3 separate regions of the Homo sapiens genome follow, and regions 1 and 3 are each linked to region 2. Evidence: promoter capture Hi-C in human tissues and cell types (Jung and others, 2019). All regions are on one chromosome and are shown on one strand. The core of a region is centred on a gene start or on the middle of the fragment in contact, and the rest is flanking DNA. Distances in the headings are between cores, read along the strand shown. Region 1 overlaps LOC105374497 (a long non-coding RNA gene). Region 2 holds the start of THUMPD2 (THUMP domain 2 tRNA and snRNA guanosine methyltransferase). Region 3 has its middle 180 kb from the start of LINC01913.

Evidence for each region. Contacts are between HindIII fragments. The study calls those that stand out against the background at their distance.
Region 1: a contact is called between a fragment that was not itself captured here and the fragment with the promoter of THUMPD2 in region 2, in 1 of the 25 tissues and cell types used here (lymphoblastoid cells).
Region 3: a contact is called between a fragment that was not itself captured here and the fragment with the promoter of THUMPD2 in region 2, in 1 of the 25 tissues and cell types used here (mesenchymal stem cells).

What each region holds. Positions count from the first base shown.
Region 1 is chr2:40,872,488-40,876,767 of GRCh38, reverse strand. The region is part of intron 1 of LOC105374497 (a long non-coding RNA gene); the gene reads left to right. Among named protein-coding and RNA genes, the nearest start is that of LINC01794, 130 kb to the right of the region's middle. The HindIII fragment of the contact is 3,469 bases long and covers 1,204-4,280 here.
Region 2 is chr2:39,776,740-39,780,839 of GRCh38, reverse strand. THUMPD2 (THUMP domain 2 tRNA and snRNA guanosine methyltransferase) reads left to right here and starts at 1,582. Exons shown (of 10, transcript NM_025264.5): 1 at 1,582-1,726. The coding sequence starts at 1,601. The HindIII fragment of the contact is 6,344 bases long and covers 1-4,100 here.
Region 3 is chr2:41,697,388-41,701,837 of GRCh38, reverse strand. No RefSeq gene overlaps it. Among named protein-coding and RNA genes, the nearest start is that of LINC01913, 180 kb to the left of the region's middle. The HindIII fragment of the contact is 9,972 bases long and covers 1-4,450 here.

The DNA of each region.
Region 1 (4,280 bases), core at 1,689-4,188, 1.1 Mb before region 2:
TCTGGGTTGAACCTGGCAAACCTACTTGTGTTTTTATTTTGAAATAAATACTCAGGTAGTGTTTCTTTTCTTTAAAAAAGTTTGCAAAACATTGGTATAGTATATTATAAATACAATTATATTAATTATTAGTGATAATGATGCCATATGTTTAAATCCCTTCCCTGATTTTGGATATTAAAACATGAGATTTAAGTTAATGCTGAACCAAATATTTCAGAGTGGCCACATCTAACTCAGTAGGCGGTAGGGGCAAGATCCTTGGAGAACCAAAAGGTCCAGTCTGACTCTTTCATTGACTGGCTATGTAACCTTGGACCAGATACCGAATTTCTCTTAGCCTCACTTCAGTGATCTATAAAAAAAAAAAAAAAAAAAAAGCTTTTGTATACATTTCATAGAATTTTGGGGAGGGTAAAATGAAACAAGGTAGCTATATATGTGTAATGGGATAATAATCTGTAGAAAATCAAGCTTATTATAATTTTAAACTATCAATAACACTTCTACAGATTATCTAAGGCATAATGAATCGATTAAAATAAAGAGTTTTCTAGTTTATTCTCTTATTAGAAATGTTTGGCATTGTCATTTTATGCACATTCTTTTCTTAAGAAAGATTCTAGACCAACTGGTACCAAGAATGCTGATATTATTATGTACATCATCTCCTGCGTTAGAACTAGAGACAAACATACAACTAATTATTTGTAAAACGTCTGTCAGTTTTACTGAGTCCTCAGGGCAGAAGGAAACTGTTATTAAATCTAGGCCTTTGTATTGATGAGGGCAATCTATGGACCAACTTCACTTGACATTTAACAAAACTGTGGGTGGTCATTACATATTTTGAGCAAGTAAATAAGTAAAGGTCTTCTGTGTGCTCTAATACATAACCAACTCTGCAATTTTAATTTTATTTCAAAATCCTCAGTGGGCAAAAACCTACCAACACAGCCACAATTTTTTTCTAGAGCTTGTTTATCTTTCAATTTTTTTGCTCGTACATGCCCTCTTATCTCCTCCATTTTAAAGTATTATACATTTAAAATATTGTACCTGTTAAATAAGTGATGTGTGTTTTCCCTTTTCTAAATTTCTCAAGGAAGAGTATTCTCTCATATTTCTAGTTTATGTTGAGGCTGTACTGCCTCAAGAACCCTCTTGAATAGAGAGTCCCAATAATAATCAATGACATAATAATGTCTAAATTTTTCTTATTCATTCTAAAATAAGAATAAACAAAAATGCATATAGGCAATTACCCTATTACTTCACTGTCACCAAAGCATAGTAAGCCCTCATTTAAAATCATTGATAAGTATGTGGAAATTATGACTTTAAGCAACACACATATAATGAAACCAAATTTTTTCTCATCAACTAAGGATGTTATTTGAAGAGCTGTTACACATTGATTTACTTAAAGTCACAGTTTCCAAGAATCTATCAATAACATTAAGTAAGGACTTAGTATGTCTTACTGAGTTGTACTGTGGATATGTAGTTTTTGGCAATGTGTACTTTTATATATGATTTATGATGAACACCACATCTTGACTTTCATTGTGTTAAACTGCTAGAATGAAAATTACATTAGAAAGTCAGGGCATAGACTCTGAATTGTTTCAGGGTTTTATAAAGTAAGAAGATGCTTTCTGTCCTTAAAGTGTTTTAAATCTAAGAACAAAATAAGGCAAAGATACCTCTTTTAGTCATCCATTAAACCTATATTGAGCATCTTCAATCTGTATCCTTCAAAGAGTGGGCACTAGGAAACAATAATTACATATAAATGAGAGACAAAAAAGAAGGGGTAGCTATATGAGTAGTAGAGTGAGACAGAGGAAAGAAAATGGCCTTTAAAATCAGAGCAAGCATCTGGTACTTACCAAATCTAGCTATTGATTAAATCACTTACATTCTCTAAGCTTCAATTTCTTCACTCATGGCTACATCCTAAAATGTTATATAAAGGGAGTAAAAATTCACATATTGTCTTAATTAGGAGATAAAATAATTCTTAAAAGAAATTGGTGTACATTTTGAAGTCTTGGAGCAGAGGGAGGAACAGGAAAAGAAAATGTCTTTTATTTATGATAGATAGATAGACAGGAGATGAAAAGCAGCTATTTAGCAAAGTGCCCTTTCAGTAAACCGAGCTCCGACAGCTGTCAAATACCATCATAAGTTTGAAAAGATCTGTGTCAGTCAGTCCTGGTAAATTGTCTGTAGAAATTAGAGTTACAGTATCACCTGGCTGAAGCATCTGTCAAGAATCTGATTATCTCTTCACTGTTCGTCCATACTTGACTTATTTTTTAAACAGAAGCAAAGCATTATTTTGTAAATAAGAAATAAGTTTGCAATATAAATACTAATAGAAATAATATTGTATAAGTAAATGAAGACCACCTAAATGAGGGCAAGCAGAGGCGATTTATGCAAAGCTTGCAATAAGAAGGAAGGCAGCCACCATCAGTTGCATTTGGGAGAGATATACAGGCAAGTAGGAAAGTGTGAAAAGGTTAGAGTTTTCGTTTGTTTTTAATGGAAGGCTTCAGATATGCTCATAGTGGAGGTTGCTGGCATGGGGAAACTAGAGGCAGGCTGAAAGGAGTGGAGCATCCTCTGAGATTGTTTTGGGAGCATTTTTGGCTTTCTCTAGTTCATACTAAATTGGAAGCAGAAAGCTGGGGCAAAAATTAGGGAAGCTGGAAGTTTTTGATCAAGTCCTGACTATTCTGAGCCACACGCTGCAGAGGTTGTGGTTTGATTTCCCAAAGTGGTTGTTCTAGAGGTTGTTGGTCAGAGTTCTGTTTTCATGTTGAACTGGTCATTGTCCATTTGTTTATTCAGTCTCTCCATACATACAGATTTATTGCCAAAGTAAAATCTGTCAATTATTCAGCTAATATAAATTACTGATAACAGATTTTGGATCAAATTGATTAAATTACATGATTAATTGAGGTATCAAAAATGAGAAGGAGAAAAGGGAAAACAAGAGATGAAGTTTGGAGGAGATGCAGGATAATGCAGTAAAAAATAACGTCAAGTCAATGGCAGAACACATGAATGAACTGTGCCTAGCTGAATAATTATAACACAGCTTAGGGTCCATGGATAACAACAGCACACATATTCTATTAATACATATTTATTGATTTCGTATAATCAAAACTCTTTGCTGGAAATAGAGATATTAAGAAAAAATGTCATTGTCATTGTTCTCAGTTATTTTCAAGGTGTGGAATTTCTTTACGAACCCTCCAGAATTCACTGCCCTCAATTTCCTTCAGCAGAGTAGGCTGAAAACATTTTCTCAGTTATTAAGACAGGCATTTTCTCCTTCTTATTCACCTAATACCTGCCTAGTGATGAGAAAACTACTCTGGGACCTGAATTCCACTCTCAAGGAGGCCCTACACCAGTCCTCTGAGGCTTAAGACTGTGCCATTACCTTGTCTTCAGTCACAAAAGCCACAGACATGCATTTGGGGAGTCAGAATAGGGTCCAGCCTTCAGGCTTCACCCATATTTGTTTATTTTGTAGTCGCTATATTTGTAGTCACTATAATAATGGCTGTATCATTGTTTTACTTAAACCTTCAGGGGGTATGAGTATTTTCTGTGCATATCTTTTAATTAATGATTGATTTTTCAATAACTCTAAAGTTTGACTACAATTTGTAATTTTTAATGAACTATAAAAACATAAGAAGTTTCATAAGGAAATCAGTTGAGTACAAAATACCTGGTTCATTTGGTTTTAGTTCAGTGATGTCTTGTTAACAATTGAATTATAGAAAGGAATAAAAACAAAATTTGTCCTTGGGTGAAAACTCTTTACATAAAGAGTTTATTTTATTTTCCTGTTAATTCAAAACATTGCAGAGAATGTGATTAATATCCCTCTACTAAGCTTTGAATAATGTATAGGATAGCTCAGTATCACCAGGGGACAGAAGGAGTTTTAAAAATGAAAGCACCTTTAGCAGATGAGGTCATTACATACACTTAAACTGTATAAATATATTCTCAGTTGGAGTCCCGTCTATAATATGATTCAACATTTGCAGAAAGCTCTTACTTGTTTTCTTTTTTAAGAAGATTCATTTGTACTTTTGAAGGACATCTTTTTAAAGGAAGTGGAACTGTTCTAACGATCCACTTGATCTTCACTCCTCTTTTTATTTTCTCCTTACTGCCTTTCCTTCTTGTGTTGTTTTGCTAAATTGGCTTCCTTTTTCTTAACACGGCATGCTTTGAGTGAATTT
Region 2 (4,100 bases), core at 333-2,832:
TTTGAATCCTCAAGACAGGGTGGTGACTGGCGGAGAATAGGTGTTCAGTATTTGTTGAACTGAATGGAATGCATCCTATCTGCATACTTAACATCTTGGGCACAGAATGTAGAGAGAACTAAAGAGGGTTCCTGTCCTCCCCAGACAGACTTGACAGTCAGAACCCCAAAGTATAGAGAAGTTAAAATGAACTACGGCAGTAGCCCAGAAAAGGAAAACATGTGTCTGAGGGCAAGAAAAGAATTCATCAAAACGGTAGTGTGTGAGGGCTGGGTGCCTGTAATCCCAGCACTTTGGGAGGCCGAGGCAGGCGGATCGCTTGATCTCAGGAGTTCGAGACCAGCCTGGCCAACATGGTGAAACCCCTTCTCTACAAAAAATACAAAAATTAGCCCGGTGTGGTGGGGCTTGCCTGTGGTCCCAGCTACTGGACAGGCTGAGGTGGGAGGATTACTGGAGCTCAGGAGGTGGAGGCTGCAGTGAGCCAAGATCACGTCACTGCGCTCCAGCCTGGGCGACAGAGGGAGACCCTGTCGCAAAAAATAAAAAATAAAAAGCAGCATCAGAAGAGTCTTAGGACTGAACCTTGGAAAAGCTCATGTTATGTGACTCCATGAAGAATTTTTACTGTACGGCCCAGTAGAGCATGAGCTGGGTGGGGGCGGGGGTGTGTGTGGGAGTGTCGGGGGAGGTGAGGGAGTATCAGTTCTTCACCTTAACATCCCATTCTGAAGCACAGGACAGCCCCTTGTCAGAGACACACATGCATTTATCATTTCTGTATAACTGACTCAATATACAGCTACAGAGCTAATTTCACGCTGTTTATCTTGTAACATGGATTCTGTCTATGCTTCCCAAGTAATATTTTCATTTCCATTTTAAAATTCAGAGTTTAGAAAAATGCCTTCAAATACCGTTAGGAGAACCATTCAAATCAGGTGCCCAAAACTAGATGGCACATTGATTCATCTATGGCTGGATGGTTAACTAAGTAGTGCAAGAAATATGAGCTGTTTCAGAACGCAGACGTTTGTTAGAGAACAGGAACTTCTGCTCTCCGTCCTGGAGATTCCAACGTTTGGCCCGATTCTTTGTGAAAACAGACCAGGGCTCCTTCTATGAGAAGAGTAGAGGAGAGGAATGAAGGACAGGAAGAGGACGGAGTTGGGAGGAATGGAGGAAAAGGCATTATGTTAGATAGGGAGAAATCTAGGCTCCAGCCTCAGCTGTGCTGCTAACTCGCTGTCTCTTGACCTCTCTGGGCATTAATTTCCTCAATCTACAAAATAAGGCAACTGGACTGAATTATCAATTCTAACCCTTCCACCTGTGATTCTAACCCATTCTGGTGCCTAATCAAGGAGGGGACAGATGGTCAACCAGGAAGACCCATAGGGGCCACAGAGGGCTGATGCGACCCTCCCAGGCTCTCCGTCTCTCTCACCCTCTCCTTCCCCCTCCCTCTCCCCCTCCCCCTCTCCCTCTCCCTCTCCCTCTCCCCTTTGGCATCACACGCCCCTGCGCGCCGCCTCCAGGAGCGAGCCGCTCGCGCCCGAGGCCACGTGACCCGAAGGCGCGAGGGCGCGCCTGAGCCGCCATGTCGGAGGCGCGTGGAGAGCCAGGGTCCGGGCCTGAGGCTGGCGCCCGATTCTTCTGCACTGCGGGTCGCGGCCTGGAGCCGTTCGTAATGCGAGAGGTGCGGGCGCGGCTGGCGGCCACGCAGGTGAGTTGGCCTCGCTGCGCGCCTGGGGAGGTGGGCGGCCCTGTCCCTGCCCTGTTGCCCACCCCAGTCGTGGACGCGGGAAAGCGTCGCTGGCGCCCCTCTCTGTTCCACGCGACGGTCGCCGACCCCCGAGGTTGACTGGCAGGCGCTTCCGCTCCGGCCGAGAGAAGCCACCATTCCTTTCTTTCCTTGTATAGCAAATCCAGTTCCTCACTTCTCAGGGCTCAAGTTTTTAAGAGAGGTGTTGAGGCAAGTTATTTCCTGGATTCTTTAAAGTAGTAAGTAGTGCCTGTAATTAGAATCTGGCCTGTCAGAGTTAGAACCCTTCGCTCTTTAAATGCAAACATAATCTCCAAGTTCAGTTACCTGACTTTTTGTTAGTTTCTTGACAGTGATTGTATTTGACTACATAGGATTGTTGTGAGAATTAAATTATATAGCGTATGCAAAGTACACTTTAAACACGCAGTAAATAGCAGCCAGAAAAATAATATACTCTTGCAGGCCTCATAGTTATCTGTTATTGATTTCTGTGAAATGAACAAGGTTTTAAGCATCGGTTTAGGTTTTAGAATGTTGAAAACTGGTTTCTTGAAAGTAGGGGATGAAGGTATAATAGAAAAGGTATCTTGATGGGGTGTATGGGACACTGTGAGTGATGTACTCTTGGAAAAGGAGAGCTTCCTAAATGAAATTAACCCCTCCACCCTGGCAGCTCCTACAGTGTGGGAAGCCCACAAAAGGAGTTTCTGCAGTGAAAGGTTGGAGTCGTGAAGAATTATGTCAGTTTTGTTAGACTACCTGCCACTTGTGTTTTGGGTCACAGAATTTAATAGAGTATTGAATGTAGCTAATCTTAAAAAGCATCAATATATAATAACTACTGACATTTATTGAACATTTAATATGTGTCAGGCACATGTTCTTAGATCTTTACCCTATATTTATTTGCGTACTTTTCACAACAGCCCTATAAGGTAGGTGTTCCACATTTAACAGATGAGAAAAATGAAGCACAGGTAAGTCCGAGAATTTATTCAAGTCATGCAACTAGAAAATCGCAAAGATGGGATTCAAACCCGAGCTGGGAAATCAAGAATGAGTATATAATCATGTTCAAACCAGGCCCACTATATGACCATGACATAGGGGTGCGCTGGCTTGTTTTTTTAAATGCTAACTTAGAGTGCTTGGTATGAAAGAGAGAGAGAGCTTGGCCCAATTAATATGTAGGATTATTAGAAAAAGGAAAGACTCTCTGCTTGTTCTCCATCTTCTCTAAAGACAAATGAAATGGGGAAAACTTTATTACCAGGAAGAAAATTCAATTAAATACAGGGAAAACTTTTTGACAGTGGGAGTAATTAAATGCCAGTAGATTTGGGAATTTCCATATTCTGCTCTTGTATGTTTGAAAGATAGATAGGTCTGGAAATGGGATCTGAACAAATAATCTCTGAAATTCCACCCAAGTTGCTCTGATACAAAGTGAACTCTCAAAGTTAAGGCAATCCTGAAATAACAGTGATGACAACTAACATTTATTAAACACTTAAAATGTTAGACAAGTTATGTGCATGTTATGATTTAATCCTCAAAAGACTCCTATCTGATAGACTTTTACCTCCATATTTTACCAAAAAAAGAGAAAATTGGGACTTGTCTCTGAGTCTCTCTAGCTTTAAAGCCCATGTGCTTTACCACTAGGCTAAATTACCATGGGAATCTTCCCTGGAACATTGGATGTAGTTTATTTCTGTAACACCACGGTAGAGTACGTATGGTCTTTAGAATCAAAAGACCTGTGTGCAGATCTTATATATTCCTTTAGTGGATTTGTAACTTTGGGCAAATTACTCAAATTTCTGAGCCTCAATTTTCTTGGATGTAAAATAGAGATGATAGCTACTTTAAAGGATTACTGCAGTCCCTGAAATAAAGATAGCACAGGTAGCATGCTGCCTAACAAATAGTTGGTGCTCAATTTTAGTTCCCATACAATGAGTTGTACAGGAATACTTAAAACATTCTTTCAATGATAAGAGAGTGTTAGAAACTTTGGATCGCATCAAGGAAATTAACACTCTAAAATGTAAATTTACAAAACAGATTAATTCAAGAATGATTGTTTAAGAAAGTAATCACTTCATTTTAATGTGTTTTTCCAATTTTCATGAACATAAGAATCACTGAGGAAGCTTGTTGAAAATGAGTATTTCTGGGTGCCAGCCCCAAAAGGTTTTCTTTTAGTAGGGTGGCTGATAAGCCCAGGTGCTACCATTTTAACATGAAAACATGCTCCCCTCTCAGAGAACTCCCAACACACAGTTTGCAGTGGAAAATTTCCTGTGTATTCTTTTTAGCTTTTTATCAT
Region 3 (4,450 bases), core at 446-2,945, 1.9 Mb before region 2:
ACCCAACCTTTCTTAATGTGAACATGTTGCATAACTGTAGTATGTAAAAAACAGGAAATTAACTTTGATATAATCCATAGGGCTTATTTAGATCTGGCAGGTAAATATATGCACTCATTTATATCATGTGTATGTGTGTGTGCAGCTTCGTGCAATTCTCTTTTTCTTTTTTATATAATTTTTTTGTAGAGATAGGGTCTTGCTATGTTGCCCAGGCTGGTCTTGAACTCCTGGCCTCAAGCCATCCTCCTAACATGACCTCTCAAAGTGCTGGGATTACAGGCGTGAGCCACTGTGCCTGGACTCCATGCAATTTTCTTATATGTGTAGTATCATATAACCACTATCATAATCAGGTTATGTAACTCTTTCGTCACCACAAGACTCGCTTGTGTTACCCTCTTATAGCTACACCCATTTCCTGCCCCATCCTTAACCCCTGTCAACCACTAATGGTTCTTTACCTCTATAATTAGGTCATTTCAAAAATGTTACATAAATGGAATCATGCAGTATATATTCTTTGACAGTGGCATTTTCCACTTAGCATAACTTCCTTGAGGCTCATCCAGGTTGTTGTGTGGATCAAGAGTTCATTCCTTTTTATTGCTGAGTTGTATTTCATGGCACGGATGCTCTACAGTTTAACCAGTCACATATTGAAGGGCATTTGGGTAGTTTTTGGCTATTACAAATAAAGTTATGACATCCATGTGCAAATTTCTTTGTGAAAATGCATTTTCATTACTCTGGGACGTATGCTCAAGAGTTCAATTGCTGGGTTGTATGGTAAGTCTATTTTTAGTTTTAAAAGAAAATGCCAAACTATTTTCCAGAGTGGTTCTACCATTTTACATTCTCACCTGTGATTCGGTTTCTCTACATCCTCTCCTGAACTTGATGTTACCAATTTTTTCTTAATTTTAGTCATTCTGATAGGTGTAGTTATATCTCATGGTAGTCTTAATTTGCATTTTTCTGATGGCAAATGGTGTTAAACACCTTTTCATGTGCTTCTTTGCCATCTGTGTATCTTCTTCTCTGCAATGCCTGTGAATGTCCTTTGGCCGTTTTTAGGTTGGATTGTTTGTTTTTATAATTGTAAGCATTGAGAGTTATTTATATATTCTAGATACAAGCCCTCTGTCAGATGTGTGATTTGTGAATACTTTCTCCCAGTCTATGGTTTATCTTTTCATTCTCTTAACAGGGTCTTTTGCAGGGCAGAAGTTTTAAATTTTGATGAAGTCCAATTTAGCATACAGAATTTTGCTGTCAAGGATATGATCCGTTTTACATTTTTGCATGTGAAGGATGAAAAAGAGATCATTGAATATGGGGAAAAGTAGATAGTTGCAATACTATTTCAGCAGTCCATTTGGAAAGGGCTGAAGTGTCAGTATAGCTGGAGACAAAGGTAGTAGACCTGAGAGAACTTCGTGATCAATATCATACAGGAAGCATTGGGGTGTCAGGTGACATTTGGGGTTTGGATTTACACAATTGTGTGAATAGTCTTCCCATTAACTGGGGCCATTATATGAGAGAAGAGCATGTTTGGAAGTTGGGGCCAGGGTGGCCAAGACTTGAGATTAGACACAATGAGCTTCCGGTGCTTATGGGACATTCAGGGAGAAAATATTTAGTGTGCAGCTAGAGAGGTGGGTCTAGACCTCGGGTGAGTGTTCAGAACTGAGGATGCAGACCTGGGCATCATTGGCCCTCAGGTGTGCTTGAAGTCACGGAAGTAAACGAGACCTCCTGGGGATGAGGTATATATGTTTCAATTCTGCATGAGAAAGCAGAAGACAGGAGGTCGATGCAGTGAATGATGTAGACAATCTGAAAACTAGACAAAGGTTAAGAAATTCCATGTTACCTTCCCTTACTAAGAAACTGGAGATTTGGGCAAGTGAGAATCTTTCAGTGAATCATTCAGTGTCTTCCTTTGGAAAGTAGAATCAGGGAATGATTTAAATTTATTTATTATTGAGTTGTTGAACCTTATATATATGAGAGTCAAGTCACCAGATCGATCCCTGACTTTTACCTCCAGTATTCTGTAACCCATCTTTTTATTCCAAACTTACCCCAGAGGAATGGAGTTCATCATCATCTTTAGTTTGGAATGAGAGAAAATCATTTCAGTCTGCTGCATCTACATAATGCCTCATGAAGCGAATACAAGATAATGAAAAAGAAAAGTTAAAAACCGTAATAGCTAATGGAAATAGGTATTTGAAGATAGGAGCCTTTGAGTAACATGTAATATCTAAGCCTTTAATTTTTAAAATGCTCAAGCACAGTGATTTATTTTCATGCTGTGAGTGAATGAAAGTTAAAGACTGAAATTCTTTTAAAATGAAGGCTGCTTCCTGTGCTCTCGTCAAATAATGGCGCTATGTGCTCAAGCTGGAAGCCCTCCCCGCCCTTAGATACGCTCGCTGTGCTTGTAGGAAAAGAAAATATGTAGGGAGGAATGGACCCCACTGTATTTAAAAGGGATTTGGGGAGGTTTTGTTCTTAGAGTCATGGCCAAAAAGCCTTGAAGGTCCTGACAATGACAACTGGATTCACCGGTGCAGCAGATTTTCCCAGCCACCAGCTCATAGACTCCTCCTCGCTCCCCTCCCTCTCTGTTTTCCTCACACAGAGTTCCCTTGCACATGGATTCCCACTAGCCGTTTGCTGTCAGGCTAAAAAGAGTGTTTGGCTAGAAATAAAAATTTCTCTTGAGTATGACACCTTCCAAGGAGGAAAGGAGATGCTAAAATGTGGGCAATCTCTCAGGGTCTCCAGGTGGACAGGAGCTGGGGAAGCGGAGATGTGGGCTATGCCAGCAGGTGGCAGTGTGAGCACGCAGCAAGACAAACAGAGACCGTTCCCCCCTTCCCCGCGCCGACCCCCCATTCCTGGGGACCAGGACCTGCCGCTGGTTCTGCACATCTTCAAGGTAGATTTCCAGCGTCCTACCTCCCACATTTCAAGTCCTGGTCGAATGCCGTAAAAGCTTTTCCACTGGATAATTTATAGGAACATCCCTTTTCTCTCTTCTTGCCAGTGGCTTATTTTGAAAGGCTGAGTTCTTTGAATAAATGAGCAACCTACACAATATGAAGGGAAATAAAACGCTTTATAGCCGTTTGATGGCAAGTGTTTGTCTGCCTTAAGCACGCCAGTGGCAGAAAGATAAAATAAGGACAAGGTCGTGGTTTTGATCTCTGCTGAGCCCAATTAGCTTTGTTCTATAGTGTGCCCGAGGGCCTCACCTTAAATAAGTTTAACCACCTGGAAATGCTTGTTTTGCATATGGGGGTCAATGCTGAAGTACTGCTCACTCAATACCTAGAAATTCACTAGGGTTAAAAAAAGATTAGCTTCAGAGTCATGCAGACTTGAGTCCAAATCCCTGCTCTATCACTCACTAGCTGGGCAGCCTCGGGTAAGTTACTCTCTTGGAATCTTTCTTCCCATCCCTGTAGGTTCTGTGTGAAGGTGATAGACAATGTACATGAAATGCCAGGCACACAGCAAGTACTCAACCAAAGGTAGCTAGAAATAATCTAACATCCATTTACTGTTCCCATGACAATTCACCTGGATTCTTTGTACACCAAGGAGAATCTGGTTTTGTCCTTATGTTCCTTTGAAAGTACATTTAACTCTTTGCTTCAGTGGATCATCTAGTTTAGAACCTTATTCCTTATCTCCATGCTGGTCTCAGGCTGCAGAGAAGGGAGAGAGACAGAGGAGTGTTTGGGATAGAAAGAACAGCTTAAGTATACATTGTTCTCAAATCACTGCTTTTCATAGCCAAATAGAGATGACTTTTGAATGATCAGCTGTTCCCCTTGTCTGCCTCAGAACAATGGGAGATAGATAGGTGAAATGACTTTTCCAAGAGAAGATCCCCAAGAGTCCCTTCCCTTCATCATTCACACACATGGTTATTTAGATGGCACCCCCACCTTGTGATTGATTCCATGCTGCCCCATGAAGACCTGCACGGTGCCTCTCAAAGACCTGCACGCTGCCTCGTGAAGACCTGCACGGTGCCTCGTGAAGACCTGCACGCTGCCCCGTGAAGACCTGCAAGCTGCCCCGTGAAGATCTGCACGGTGCCCCGTGAAGACCTGGACGCCGCCCCGTGAAGACCTGCACGCCGCCCCGTGAAGACCTGCACGGTGCCCCGTGAAGACCTGCACGCTGCCTCGTGAAGACCTGCACGGTACCCCGTGAAGACCTGCACGCTGCCCCGTGAAGACCTGCACGCTGCCTCGTGAAGACCTGCACGGTGCCCCGTGAAGACCTGCACGCTGCCCCGTGAAGACCTGCACGGTGCCCCGTGAAGACCTGCACGCCGCCCCGTGAAGACCTGCACGCCGCCTCCTGAAGACCTGCACGGTGCCTCATGAAGACCTGCATGGTGCCTGATCTCCGTGGGTGGTTC